Regions from separate parts of the Homo sapiens genome. Here region 2 is linked to region 1. Evidence: promoter capture Hi-C in 16 types of primary human blood cells and fetal thymus (Javierre and others, 2016). All regions are on one chromosome and are shown on one strand. The core of a region is centred on a gene start or on the middle of the fragment in contact, and the rest is flanking DNA. Distances in the headings are between cores, read along the strand shown. Region 1 holds the start of FANCC (FA complementation group C). Region 2 holds the start of TDRD7 (tudor domain containing 7).

Region 1 (7,521 bases), core at 912-3,411:
TCCACTTCTGCATTTTTATTAAAACATTGCAAAACTTCCAAGGTGCTTCTCCTGTATGTATTTTTTCACATTAAGTCAATCACTCAAGATCCACAAACAAGACAGAGAATGCACATATCCCAGCCTAAAATAAAACTTTTAAAAATCATTTGGTGCTCATTTCCAGCCCGATTTGAGGCCCTAACACTACCAACTTGGAACTACCACTCATGTGAGTTTCCTCTGGCTCTCTCCATGGCCCAGATAATCAATCCAACTTTCTACTGGCCAGGCTGGCCTCCCTGTAGCTGGTTCTCATAAACACGAAATTTGTATAATTGTTATTGGAACTACCTGCTGAAATATGGAACTGGTTAAAAGTACCATTTGTTTTAAAATGTACATGCACAGTTGCACATACATGCAGCAACACATCTTCCACAACCAGCCAATCAATCAAGTTAATGCTTTTTATTAGAGGACAAAACAAAAAATACCAATATAGAGCCTGCTTTTCTTTTCTGATGCCTTGGTAAACGTTTTTGGAGAAATCAAGAGAAAATATGACCGAATAAAGCAAAAATAAATTCGAATGTATAATATACAAAGTATAATTAGTCCAGTTCTCAAGAAGCAGGCTCTATTACTGGGAGTAGTGGGTTGGTGAAAAAGATCTCTGATATATCTAGGAAAACAAATTCTTTTTCGATGCAGCCTTTCTTGTATATGAATAATGTATATGAGTGCTTATTTCCAGGTGACTCTGGTACAGCACATAACATTGAAACATCAATTCAAGTTTAATGTATAAAGTCGCAATGAACATGTTTTCCATCTAAGCTTAGGTAATGAATGATCTCAACACATGGTATGAATTCTACTGTTTGTAACAACCTTTCAGGGGAGTAAGGAGAAAACGATCTGTCTGAGGGCATATCACTGACAGTGAGTGACAGCCACAAAGAGCTGAAGTTGGGTGGCCCAAAAGTGCTCTGCTCATTTGATAAATGCTAAGTCAAATCACATCACAGTTTAGATGCATTAAATGGGGCACAAGTTAGAATAAAATCAGATGCCCGGGAGTTTTCCAAGTTTCAGATTAGAACAAAAGTCCAGGCACATACAGGACTTTGCTAGAAAACTCCTTGGTCTCTTCCCTTAAGATTCTGGTACCCAATTTCCCATGTTATAAAACTCCAAGTCTTTTCCCCCATTCGGTGCGCTGGACACATAAGATCATAGAGGGTTCGTAGTTGTAAACGCACCCACCTAAAAAATTAAAAAGAGCAAACCAACAAACAGCACCTGAAAAATCTCTCACGGGCTTTGAAGATATGGCCTGGCGTCCACAAAAAGAATGGAGGGAAGACACTGGCCTCTGCGAACCCGCCTCCCTCCGGGAATAAAAGGCGGAGGGCGGGAGGGGTAACAGCCGCGCCCCGGGCTCCTCTAATTGGACCTCGCCCCTCCTGGCGCCCCGGCGAATGGGGTTTGGGGGCAGGGGTGTGAGGGACGGGGAGGACGAGGCCAGCTGTAGAGGGCGACCGGCTCAAAGGGGCGAGCTTTTCACGGCTCCCACGAGTCCGAGGCAGAGAAATTCACCTTTGCTCCTCTCCTTTGAAGAAGACATAGCTGCCTGCGCTCAATGAACAAAAAGAACCAAAACGCCAACACCCGGCTCCCGCCTCTCCGGGGGCTCCCTTCCGCGCGACCCCAGCGCCGGCTCCCGCCCCCGCTTTCCCCGCCCTGGCCCCGCCCCGCGGGCTGGCACCGCCCGCCACCTTCCGCCTCCCGCCTCCCGCCTCCCGCCTCAGCCTTAGCCACAGCCCTGCGCCGGCGGGAACCCCTCTCGCCCACCGCAAGGCGCGCCTGGCCCACCCGCTCTCGCGAGCCTTCCCTCTTGCCCCTCGCCTCCTCCTCCCGCTCTCGCCGCTGACGTGTCGGCCAGACCCCCGAGGGAAGCCTCCGCCCTCGCTGCGTTCTGCGGCCTGCCGCTTACCGGGTGGTCCTCGCGGGAGCTGCTTCAGCAGTTTGGGCAGTGGCGGAAAGGAAGCCACCGCCCGGGATCTGTGGCTTGAAAATTTGGCTTTGCCTCGTATTGGCTTTTTGAGTTTTTTTGGAATTTTCCCGCGGTCGCCCGGCAGTGGAGCCGCGCGCGCGCACACGTGTCAGCAGTGCATTCTGGGGCCTGGCTAGCGGCCCCGCGCGCTCCCGCGGCGTCGCGGGAAAATTCCGACGAATCTCGGGTCCGTGGGGCGGGGCGGGCGCGGCCAGGGCTCTGGCGGAAGTGGGCCCGGCTGGGGCGGGTTCTAGGCGAGCGGAGTCGGTACTGCTCCAGTGTTCCCGGTTTCGCGCGGAAGCCCCGGCGGGAGCAGGGTTGCAGCAGCGCCCGCGGAGAAGGGGCGCTGGCTTCTTCCATATTCTGTTCAAAATGTAGGGGAGGTAAAATGGAAATTAGTTCTTTTGAAGAAAAGTTGAGGCTTTGTCAACGGGGTAAAACCTCTAAAATAAGATTTTCTAACTGCGTTCTAAACAATAGCAACAAAAAAGGCATCTTCAGTTAATGATTTCCCCTACCGTACATTAGTTCCATACAGTGTTTGGTCGGGGTTCAAATCAGTTCAACGCTGTACATAAACCACCCAAACAAATATTAATAAAATTTTCTCCAAACTCCCATTTATGACAATGGCATTAGCTTGTCTTGGTGAATTTTTTTTTCTTCTAGGATCTGACGACTTAAGCTTTAAAATGTCTTAAATCAATGCCTCACAACCATAAATCATAATCATAAAACTACAGCTTAGGTCGGGCGCTGTGTCTCAGGCCTGTAATCCCAGCACTTTGGAAGGCCAAGGCGGGCGGATCACGAGGTCAGAAGATCGAGACCATTCTGGCCAACATGGTGAAACGCCGTCTCTACTAAAAATACAAAACGTTTAACCGGGCGCGGTGGCGGGCGCCTGTAATCTCAGCTACTCTGGAGGCTGAGGCAGAATAGCTTGAACCAGGGAGTCAGAGGTTGCAGTGAGCCGAGATCGCGCCACTGCACTCCAGCCTGGCGACAGAGGGAGACTCCGTCTCAAAAAAAAAAAAAAAAAAGCTACAACTTCACATATACGTTCAAAAACACACTACAGGCCGGGCGCGGTGGCTCACACCTCTAATCCCAGCACTTTGGGAAGCTGAGGCGGGTGGATCACCTGAGGTCAAGAGTTTGAGACCAGCCTGGCCAACATGGCAAAAACCCGTCTCTACTAAAAATACAAAAATTAGTGTGTACTCCCGGCTACTTAGGAGGCTGAGGCAGGAGAATTGCTTGAACCCAGGAGGCGAAGGTTGCAGTAAGCCAAGATCGCACTACTGCACTCCAGCCTGGGCAACAGAGCGAGACTCTGTCTCAACAAAAAACACCACAAAGCTGTGTGTGCTTGTAATAAAAATAGCTCTCAAGTATTTAAACATGTCCAACTATTCCTATGGTGAAGAAATACCCGTTTTACCAATGAATACTTTCAATTCAGAGACTAATTTGCAGAGGTTATACATTTATAAGTGATACAATAAGTATATAGCATAGCAATAGCAACAATCTGTTTAAGAATTAAAGGTAGTTAAAAAAAGGAACCGATCCAGAGGTTGAGACAAAACTGGCAGAATCTGCAACTACATTAAGGAATTCGGTGTTTACATCCATTCTCGAAACTATTCCATGCCAGTTAAGGAAGTCGGTGCTTTTTGATTGTTTTTTAATTTTAGATTCGGGGGTACATGTGCTTGCTTGTTACATAGGTATATTGTGTAATGGTGGGGATTGGGCTTCTGGTGTACCTGTCCCCCAAACATTGAACATTGTACCCAATAGCTAATTTTTCAGCCCTCACCCCCTTCCCACCCTCTCCCTTTTTGGAGTCCCCAGTGTCTTGTTATTCCCATTCTTATGTACATGTATACCTATTGTTTAGCTCCCGCTTATGAGAACATGCAATATTTGATTTTCTGTTTCTGAGTTTGTTCACTTAGGATAATGTCCTCCAGCTCCATCCATGTTGCTGCAAAGGACATGATTTCGTTCTGTTTTACAGCAGAGAGGTCGATGTGTTTTTGATGTGTGCATAGTGTGACATGGATAAATCAAAAGCAAGTCCTGGGTAGGGAAATACATGCCTGAGGGGCACTCATCGTGGCACCTTGACCATGAGAAAGTCACCTCTGTGGTAACAAATCGAGAGTGAGTTGACGTTTAAGTTCTGCATTTATCAGCAAAGAAAGCAATTAAAGTATGTATTTCTTGAGAGAAATTATCTATTTTGGTACCCACATCCTTTTACATATTCGCTGAAAAATCATTTTTAGTGTTTGTTAATGATTGATGTCTTGCCATATCCCAGTTTTCTGTCTTTTTAGTTCAGTGGTTAATAAAGAATTGCTAGGCTCATCCAACTTTGCAGTATATGAAATGACACCATGTTTAGGCCTAAATTAGACCTAAATAGGAAGCATATATAGCATAAAGATCCAAACTTATATTTATAGGGATTCATTTTGCCTGGCATTCATATACATGGAACTATCTTAATAATATTTTAAGCAATAGTGAGATGTTCACTTTGTAAAATGCCCAGAAAGTTTCCAGAGAAACAGATATTTCAATACAAACCCTCTTTTTAATTGAATCATAAAATTGATTATGGGTGATCCAATTTTTGTTTGTGTGTGGGAGTGTGTGTGTGTGTGTGTGTGGTTTTGATTTGTTTGTTTTGAGACTGCATCTCACTCTCACCCAGGCTGAAGTGCAGTGGTGCAAACACAGCTCACTGCAGCCTCGACCTCTGCGCTTAAGCAATCCAACCACCTCAGTGGCACCAAAATGCTGGAATTACAGGCGTGGGCCACCGGGCCCAGGTGTGTGTTACTCTGGAACACAGTTTTGGTTGTAGTATAGAACCCAATCACAAATAATGTCGCAAAATGAAAAATGGCCTATTTAGGTGAAAATTATTACATCGTTTACATTAAATCTTTACATTCTAGAGGAAAACAAGTCAATTGGCTGAGTGCTGCAAAGTTCCTGACATTATCAAACCTTCCTTCAAAGTTCAACAAATAGAATCAACTGTCTTAGAATCCACGTTGTGGAAACCATTGTACCAAGACTCCTACTTCCAGAATTAGTTCAGACACCACCCACCTGGTTTCCAGTCCTTATTTGGCACCCCAACATTTAACATTATCTTTTCTTTTTTTTTTTTTTTTTTTTGAGACAGAGTCTCACTCAGTCGCCCAGGCTGGAGTGCAGTAGCATGATCTCAGCTCAGCTCACTGCAACCTTTGCCTCACCGGTTCAAGCAATTCTCATGCTTCAGCCTCATGAGTAGCTGGGATTACAGGCACATGCCATCACGCCCTTAACACTATCTTGTCCATGGCTTTGATATTTGCCTCTTGTACCTCAGTTGTGAATAATGCGTGTTGAAGTTCCAGGCACTGGGCTAACTCCTTGGCCTGGGTTATTCCCTTTGATTCTCACAGTGATCTTATGTAATCCACAGTGGTAATATTCCACTTTCACAGATACAGAAACTCATGCACAGAGCCATCTCTTCTAGTGGAGGGTGGAACCTGGCTTCAACTCCATTTACAGTGGCCTCTTACTTATAATGTTCTTGCTCCTGGCCCAGGCTGGTGACTTGAAAATAGGGTGAGGTGATCCCAGAGGCTTCTGCACTCTAATCACCACATTACTTTCCCATTAAAACATTCCAACTGAGGAAATGTAAGTTGAACTAGAGAAGAGAACAATGAGAATATTTTTTGTGCCAGAAACACTTTAAGAAACGGAGCAGATAATAGTGAAGGGCTTTGATCTGCCACCGTGAAGGGGAAAAGGCCAAGAAAGGGATGGCTGCAGGAGATGGAAATTCATGGAAAAAGGGAAATGTATTATAAATGCTGCATGGAAGCTGCCACTTCTACCCTGCCCCCGATATGCTCACTCCCTAGGCTCTGCTGAAAGAATGCACCTAGGAGGACATGTTTGTACTAGAGCCTCCATTACTAGCCACAGCTAATTGAACCAGAGATGGTAGCCTGACCCTAGCTGAACCAATCAAACTATTGCTGGGGAATTTGGAATTGCAACACTGAGAGACTGTAACATCTCTATACAACAGGAGCTAAAGCCCTCATGCCAACTGGAGTTACTTGGGGAAGAAAAATATGTAAGTAGCAAAGAAAGTTGGCTGGCAGAGAAAAGCAAAATGACGTTGAAAGGCTGTTATTTATTCTGTGAGAGAGAGGGGAGCTTCCATTCCTTATTTTTTATTTTTAAGCCTAATTTTAAGGTTAACTGACTATATATTTTTTCTGTTCTTAGTTGTCCACAGGATTGCCCCATATCCTTGCAACAGTCATCCCTTTACCTATGCTGACTTCAGTGAGTTTCTCTCCCTCACTGCAAAGCAAGCCCTGACTAAGAACCTGGAGGTGGCAGCTCTTCATTGTGTCACTGGGCATTCGCACTTTGGCTGAGCCTATTTGATAAATTAATCAATAGATACCTATTGCGAGATTACTATAGGGAATGAAAAATGGCTTTTCTGTACCCATCCTAGGTTCATGGCTGAGGCCTCCATAATAAAAGATTAACAGGAGCAAAGCATAGACATTGCATGTAAGTTTCCCATGACATAGGAGCCTTCCTAAGGAAAGGAAGACCCAGAGAAGCTGTTAAACTTGTGTGTTTCTATGCCAGGTTTCATGAAGAGTGGACAGTTGTGGGGAGATACAGTTGAACAAAGATGGGAATAAACTTGGGGGGAATTTAGCAAGGCTTATTTGTTCAGATTTTTCTCTGTAACCCGTCAGTCTTCAGAGGTAAGAAAGTACCTTTCCTGTGGAGATAGGTACTGTGGATATAGGCAGCACTTCTTACATGAGGGTCTTAGGACCTGCTTCAGGGGAAGTTCAGAAAATCATTCCAAGGTTTTATGACCCGCATCAGGAGAAAGGAGAGGAGGGAAGGTGAGAGTGACTTTCCAGCTTCTGCCATGTTTTCAAATATCAACATGCTGTATTTAGCAGAAGCATGTTCTCAACCCAATCACTACAAAGCATAAAGCACAAAGCCTATACGCTGTGTGAAAGACACAGATCTAAGTATTTTAGAGTTGAGAGAAAGCAGGAGTTCTCTAGGTTTTGGATTTGGCAGGGGAGGGGGCCAGTGAAATGTCAGTAATATTAGAAGTTAACAGAGTTAACAACTTTTTATTTGGTCAAGTAAAGACCTTAGGAGAAAAAAGTCTGCCATAATTATAATTTCATTTTTTAAGAAATGTATTTTTAACTTTAAGACAAGATGAAGGGAAAAAGTCTCAAAGAACAGTCTTTTAAATTGAATAAGTTTTATTTCATGAAAAACTCATTATGTTGTTTTTATTCATCTCATTTTACCACTTCCTCCCCTTGTTAGTATCAGAACACTGCTTTTACTTAGCACGGCAATGTGCCCAATAAAAAGGACCACCTTCCCTACAACTAGAC
Region 2 (7,445 bases), core at 1,765-4,264, 2.1 Mb after region 1:
GCAGGTTCTCAGTAAATGCATATCCAATGGTGCAGAGAAGTGTTCAATGTTGGCTGCAGGGATGCAAAGCAGGTGCCAATAAGTGTTGGTGGAATTAATGTGCAGAATAAATAAGTATTCACTTATTAGGTGTTCAATAACTTTAGAGTGAATGAATAAATTTGACAGATATTTATTGCTGATCGTGTGCTAGGCACTATCCTAGGCTCTGGGAATAGGTTAAGGAACCAAACAAAAATCCTTGTGCTCACAGAGCTTTAATTTTAGAAGGATAGCAGACAATAAAAGCATAAGTAAAATACATATAGTGTGCTAGATAGGTGCTAAGGAGAAATAAGGTTGAGAATGGGGATAGGGAAAGTCAAGGAAGGAGGTTGACATGTTAGAGACTGTGTCCACCGTCATTGAAAGGGTAATGCTTGAGAAAGGCCTGAAGGATATGGGCGGACAGAGTGTGTGTCTAGGGCAATAAAAAGTAACTGCTCCAGATGTTGAAGAAAATAATGTGCAGGAGTTGAACTGTTTGGAAGGAGGGTGAGCCCCATAGAAGGAGCCACCCTCGCCCCCTGCTGAGTCCCGGCTCGCTCGGCCCGCGCGTACCTGCGTTGTCCACCAGGAGGCGCTCCCGCACCCGCCCCGCAGGCGTCTTCCGCCGCCGGCCGGTGCGTGGGCACGCGCAGAAACCGCTAGGTGGCGACGGTTTCCCTTCCCACGCGCGGACGCCGGCGTGGGCCGACGCGGCCGGAGCGCCCGCGCGTGCGCAGAGCCGAGGCCAGGCTGCCCTCGAAGCGGGGCGGGGCGAAGCGGGGCGGGGCCGAGCAGGGCGGGGCGGGGGCTTGAGGTGATTCCCAAGCCGCGGGGCGGCTCCGGTGGTGCGGGGAAACCGAAAGTGGGCGGCGGCCGCGGCGGGGCCCCTGGCGGAGACGGCGGCAGGAGCTGGGCCCAGAGACGCGGGGACGGGCCGTGGGCCCCCGGAACGAGGTGAGTGCAGGTCCTGCGGGCTCCGGGCGCGACAGGTGCCGGGCGACGTCGGACGAGATTTCGGGCGGGCGCGGCGCACCTGGGTCACCGGTGGGACCGCGGCCAGGGCCGGGGGCTCCAACAGGCTCGGGGCCTTTTCCCTGCAGCCGCAGGGGATTGCCCCCGCCCCGACGCCTGGGAACCGGGCTGGGCGCCGGGGGAGTTGGAGTTCCAGAGCGTTGTGTTTTAAATCTCTGAAGGGACCCTGCTCCGGGCCGGGCGTTCACGCGGGAGTCGGACGGAGCCTCCTGCCGCCTCGGAAGCTCTGCGCCGTGGGGGAAATGCAGCAGCGGGGTGTGGACGCGGGCGGGAGATGCGGACCAGGAAGTGGTTCCCGCTACCGGCGCGACAGGCCGCAGCCGCCGCCCCCAGCGAGGGATGTCCGCGCTCCCCTATTTGAACCCAAGTATTTTACACCACGAACTTCTCTTGAAGGTCTCTATAATCTGGAGACGAGCCCCAGGCAGGCCGCTTAAGTAATGCAGGACACACATCCCCATTTCTCTCAAACGAGGAGCACCCAGTGGGTACAGAGCACCCAGCTGGGAGGGAAACATGGATCCGTGAGTAAGTTGTCTCTCAACTTTCAGTAGCATCCCCTCAGCAGGGTCAGACTCTCAGCTTCAGCTTGCTAGGAGGGAGCTTGGAGCCGGCATATCTTTCTGCTCCCATTCACTTGAGAGGTATATTTCCATTAATAGCTAAAGGTACCATTCTCAAATAATTTCTAAGAGCAGGGAAGGGAAACAACCACATTAGAACAAGTCCTGGCCCAGAAGAATTCTGATCACCGCCCATCCAAACCAAACCAAACCAAAAAACCACAGATCTAGTTCATTAACCCTCCTACCAACACCTCTCTGCTCTCCAATCGTGCCGGTGAAAAAAATGCAGAGAAATGTTCTCTCTAGAGAGATAGGCAACAGCTTAATAGCAGAAGTAAAACTTGGACCCAAATCCCTGTCTCGTCCTGGGCTGCCTTGATGTGTATGAATGTGTTGCATACTGCAAATAATGTGAACTTTGCAGACCTGGATTGAAATCTGGGCTTCTCATTTTACAAATTGTGTGATCTTGAACAAATTACATGCTTTCTCTTAGCCTGGTTTTCTATGTGTCAAATAGAGGTACCTGGCTTACTTTGCAAGGCTTTTCCAAGATAACCACTGTATATCCTTTGCCTCATAATAATTGCCAAGCAGTATTCACTCTCTTCCTCCCAACAAACGGTCCATGTTTTACATAATTGGATTTTAGTTTTTTGAGGGCAGGGACACAAAGATCTTTGTGTTTACTATATAATATAAATGGGCACATGGTGGATATTTTTGCATTTCCTCTCAGCTGACATTCATTGAGCATCAGTTACGTGCAAAGTACTGTTCTGGGTATAGGGAATTGCCCCTGGGGCCAGCTGGATTAGCACTCACATCTCCTGTGCCCCAATCCAGGGCCCTTTGGTGGCACACAGCCTCCGTCTTTGGTAGTTGCACGGTGAGACTGTGAGGCAGCAGTTGGCAGTGCCTTCAGATTTCAGTCTCTGTAGATTGAAAATGAAGTGTAATCCCCTGCTAATGCCCTTTTAAGTGTACAGGTTGAACATGGCTGAATGAACTATTGTATTGTGCATCAAGAGATTTTAAACTCCTTGCAGAACCCCTCTTTTAAGTTCTCTGTGCAATATAATCTAGCTGGATACTTAATGTGAATATAAAGAAAAAATATAATCCAACCCCGAGTGCCTAATTTGTGTTTGTCAAGTGCTGTTTTCAAGAATTGAGATTTGACATAGAGTGCTTTGCATCTGGACACTTTCACAGAAGTTCCTTGGTGAAATTTTATATTTACGTGAACTGTTGTTTCTTTGTGCCAAACCTGCTTTTTCCTCCCTCCACTCCCACCTCTGTACTTTTGAAAGCTTCATTCTTGTCATTATTTCCCTGTAAGCCAAATATGTTTACAGTTTTGTCTTTCAAACTAAAAGTAATTAATTTTGCAATTTTTAGTTGAAGACATGTATATATGCCAATCAGAACTTGATCAGTGCAAGCTACCCAGTGTGACTTCAAAGTAAGCTTGGCATTTTAGCCTGTGCAGCTTTGTCATGAGTAAGCAAACTCGGTTTTCATTACATATTTGGACCTTATTTCAGCCTTCAGTGAATCCAAGGAAAGTTGAGAATCATGGCTCTTGCCCACCTTTCTTATCTTCCTTGTGAAAAAAAGAGACCTGAAGTGACTTGTCACAGGTAATCAGTAGCGGAACTAGGATTAAGACACAAACTCCTTACTAAGCCACTTTATTATCTCAGGGTTTTTTCGTCTAGTATGTAGACTTATGGAAATCCCTTACTTACGTACATTCGTGGTATGCAGTTAAAATGCACGAATAATTTGGAACTTGAGATCACAAGAATAAAAAAGATAACTCCCTGAAAAAAACTCTTAAGGAAGTATACCATCATCTGAGGGTATTAATCATCTTTTTCCTTTAAAAACCGGTTGGTGAAGGAGTAATTGAAGTGGTAACAGACTATGATTAGAAAGAAAAGAGCATTTAAAAGTGTCGCAAGGTGAGAAATCATTTATTGGGTAAAGATCTTAGGAAAAAATTTTCCCTCTGAGGCTCAGTTTATTGATTTGTAAGATAAGGAGCTTGGGTTAGCCTAGACGATGCCTAAAATGTGTCAGCACAGACATTATGGGACTTTAAGTTCCCGCTGTTGCTAAAATAGTGTCTTCAAGGAGAAGGGCAGTTAGTTATTAGAAGTATATGCCCTAAAGAGATATCCAGATACTTCAAAATTGAACATCTAACTAAAAGAAGCTAAGAGAGATTACTTGGTGTTTTCAGTTTACCCTAATAATTCTTCTGATTTGTTTTAAGATTTAGTGCCACTCGACAACTTAAACTGATGACATGAAAAATGTAGTAAGGAAGATGAGCCAAATCATACAGTTGGAAATAGTTGAGCAAGAAGAAACTTAGAAAAGAGAAGGCATAGGATGGAAGCCAGACTAGCTCAGCTAAAGGCCTTTGACACCAGTAGTTAGAGGAAGCAGATAACATGCAAATGACTGAGCCAGGGAGGATCAATCAATGGTAGAAGGCGTTTATCTGGGATACACCAAAACCAGGTTCTTCAGAATAGGACTTCCTTGGGCCATTTTCAGGTATAGTAAAGAGAAAAGCTGTGAATTTACAAAATGCAGTTTTGAAGTAGAGTGAGAATTATTTTAGGCCACTTAAATTATTTAAATTTTGTTTCCCTAAAGATTGTCATCACTCCCCAACTCCCCACCCCACCTCATGTGCATTATTAGTGTCTTGGATAATTAAGATTAACTGGGTATAAGCGAAGAAAAAAAGGAAAGCACGAAAGCATAAAAAAGATAGTCTCAGCTACTCAGGAGGCTGAGGCGGGAGAATCACTTGAACCCGGCAGGCGGAGGTTGCAGTGAGCCAAGATTGCGCCACTGCACTCCAGTTGAAATTCCTATGATATACTTTCTTTTATGCTTCTAATGGATGATGTCTAAGATATTAAACTTTATTTTTATAGTTAGAACAAAGTATTCTTATATACCTTGAGAGTATAATTGCCATCTTCCGAAAGTTTCAAAAAAAAGTCATCATGAGCCACGTAACAAAACTCAGAGCATTTCCAAAGTGATATAGTTTAGAAAATAATGACGATTTTTTTTAAAGCTTACACTTTCTTTTTCGTTCACTGCCTGAAGTGATGTTGCTAATGTGGGAATTGAAATCAGACTGGCAAGTCGTGCATTTGAATACAATCACATTTAGCCTTCCAGGTTTTACTGCATTTAACTGCTTCTCACCAGCTTGGAGACCCACAGTCTTATACTCCAAGGGATTCCCCTTCCCTTCAAAAAGTTGTTTGCAAATAGAGAGTTATAGTCCTCCATGAAAGATAGCATACTTTAAAAAGGCAGGCAGGGGGAGGGAACTTAATTTACAGATTGCAACCATGTGGTCAAGCGTTGATTCTCAGTCTCCTCAAGTATGAGGCCATTTTTTGTAGCTTTAGAAAAATTTCGTGAAACCTCATACACTAGTAGTTGTGCTTGCAGTATCCATTGGTCAATTAAACATATAACTACCAAAAGCTGTTGTGAATTTAATATCAGTTTGTGTTTATGGATCCCAATAATATCTGCACACTCTGAAAAACAGGACTATAAGTACATGTGAGACATTTACTAATATTCAAGCCGTGCCTGCTGCTTGTCAGGATGTGTGGGCTCCTTGCAATCATGCTGCGGCCCTGACAGGGCCTAATCTGGCTCAGAGTGGACATGCTCAGAAATAATCTACTTGATGATTCTCAACCACAGTTTGGTGTTGCGATTGGCTGTCTCATTCAGTTTATAAGAATTGTTAACATTTGCAGATAATTTTTTAGTAACTTAAATTGGATTCAGAGTTATGCCTTTAATAGCTCACCTATGTTATGCTGTATTTTAGTGAGTAGGAGAGAAAAGGAGTGGTAGGTGGATGGAGAATTTCTTATTCATTCAACAAATATTTATTGAGCTCTCGGTGGGCTAGGCACTAGGGATTCAGCAATGAACAAAACAGACACAAATCCTTGCTTTCATGGAGCTTGCATTGAAGTTGGGGAGAAAGATAAAACCATTAAATGGAGAAGAATATTGGATGGTGATAAGTGCTAAGGAGAAAATCAGGGAAGCTGGCATCTCAGTTTTGATTTTGAATAGGGTGGCCAGAGAAGGCCTTACTGTGGAGGTGACAGTTGAGCACGTACTTTAGCTGAAGGAGGTAAGGCTGTGAGCCACATGTGCCCCTGGAGTCAATATGTCCCAGGTAGAGAGAATGGCAAGTACAAAAGCCCTGTTGTGAGGCCATCTCAGGCATGTTCAAGGAAAAGCATGGAGCCCAGGATGGGTGAATGAAAATAAAGAGAAGAGAGAACTTAGGGCAAAGAAGTGGGGGTTGCAGGTTATGCAGGGCCCTTTTTGGCTCTGTAAGGACTTGGCTTTTTGTCTGAGTTAACACAGGAAGCATTAGAGGGTTTTGAGTGACGTGATATAATAGTATATATTATATGAAAAGATCACTCAGGCTGATATGTGGAGAACAGATTCTAGGAGGTGAAGTGGAAGCAGAGAGACCAGCTAAGAGCCCAGCTGCTCTGCTCCAGGAAAGAGATGTTGCTGACACGGACTAGGACAACTGCCATGGAAGTGGTGAAGAGTGAAGGAATTGTAGACATCCGCCTTCCATCTTTATGTATCACATTGCTTGGGGGAGGATTGAGAACTAATACTGACCTCACTCATCTTACAGATAAAGAGAATGAGATCCAGGAGAAGGGGCTTATCCCAGGAAAATGAGTGAGCAGTGGCATTAAACTTGCGGAACACAAGTAAAAGGAGGCTCAGGCATAATCTTCTGCAATCCCCTGCCCTTCCCCCAAAACCAAATCAAAATATATCAATGGCCAGGTGTTAGCAACTTTACTATTGAAATATTTTAAAGTAGATTTTAACTGTGATAATATGTGCATTAAAAAGGGGGTGAAAGGCCAGGCACGGTGGCTCACACCTGTAATCCCAGCACTTTGGGAGGCCAAGGCAGGTGGATCGTGAGGTCAGGAGTTCAAGACCAGCCTGGCCAACATGGTGAAACCCCGTCCCTACTAAAAATACAAAAAGTAGCCAGGCATGGTGATGGGTGCCTGGAATCCCAGCTATTCAAGAGGCTGAGGCAGGAGAATTGCTTCAACCTAGGAGGCAGAGGTTGCAGTGAGCGGAGATCACGCCACTGCCCTCCAGCCTGGGTGACAGAGCAAGACTCTATCTGGGGGAAAAATAAAGGGGGAGTGAAAGTAGGAAGTATGTGTGTGGCATAAGCTTTTCTCAGGTCAGATTGAGAAATATAACTTAGAAAAAACAGTCTGACAATGCCAAGAAATCAAGGTGGGTAAATGTGAGGTTGGATAGGGTGGGAAAAGTGAAAAATAAGGATGAGCACTTCTGTGCCGTGCAGATTCACACTGGTATTTTATTTAATTTTCTTCCAAGAGTCTCGGGGCAAAGGATAGAACAATTAGGATGGAGGTCACGAGACATCTGCTATATAAAGGAGAAGACACATTTAAAGAGGGTGGGACTAGAGAAGCAAGCATTAGGCAAAGCTTCGTACCTCACTCTGCTCTGGCCGTTAAACAGGTCATGGGTGGGGACAAGAGGAAGACTCTACCTGAATGCCGCTCCTTAAAAAAAAAAATTGTGAAGTGCCCTTTTTGGGAGATCCCTGCTTGCAGCTGTTTCAGAGCAGAAATAAGGAAGATAGAAGGGACATTTCAGGGGCAGTGGTCTAAAATGGTTCTCCCAAGGGTGGAAGGAGTGGAAGGCTTTCGCAGAGGGCAACCTGTAGAA

What was found. Contacts are between HindIII fragments. The CHiCAGO score rates a contact against its expected background, and 5 or more counts as called.
Region 2: a fragment that was not itself captured here is called in contact with the fragment with the promoter of FANCC in region 1 in 1 of 17 cell types (total B cells); the score reaches 5.4 in total B cells.

The regions. Positions count from the first base shown.
Region 1 is chr9:95,315,548-95,323,068 of GRCh38, forward strand. FANCC (FA complementation group C) reads right to left here and starts at 2,162. Exons shown (of 15, transcript NM_000136.3): 1 at 1,979-2,162. RefSeq lists a silencer at 1,514-1,833. The HindIII fragment of the contact is 1,904 bases long and covers 818-2,721 here.
Region 2 is chr9:97,411,258-97,418,702 of GRCh38, forward strand. TDRD7 (tudor domain containing 7) reads left to right here and starts at 839. Exons shown (of 17, transcript NM_014290.3): 1 at 839-981. RefSeq lists silencers at 526-875, 896-1,105, 1,190-1,484 and enhancers at 820-1,321, 1,322-1,821, 1,426-1,685. The HindIII fragment of the contact is 157 bases long and covers 2,937-3,093 here.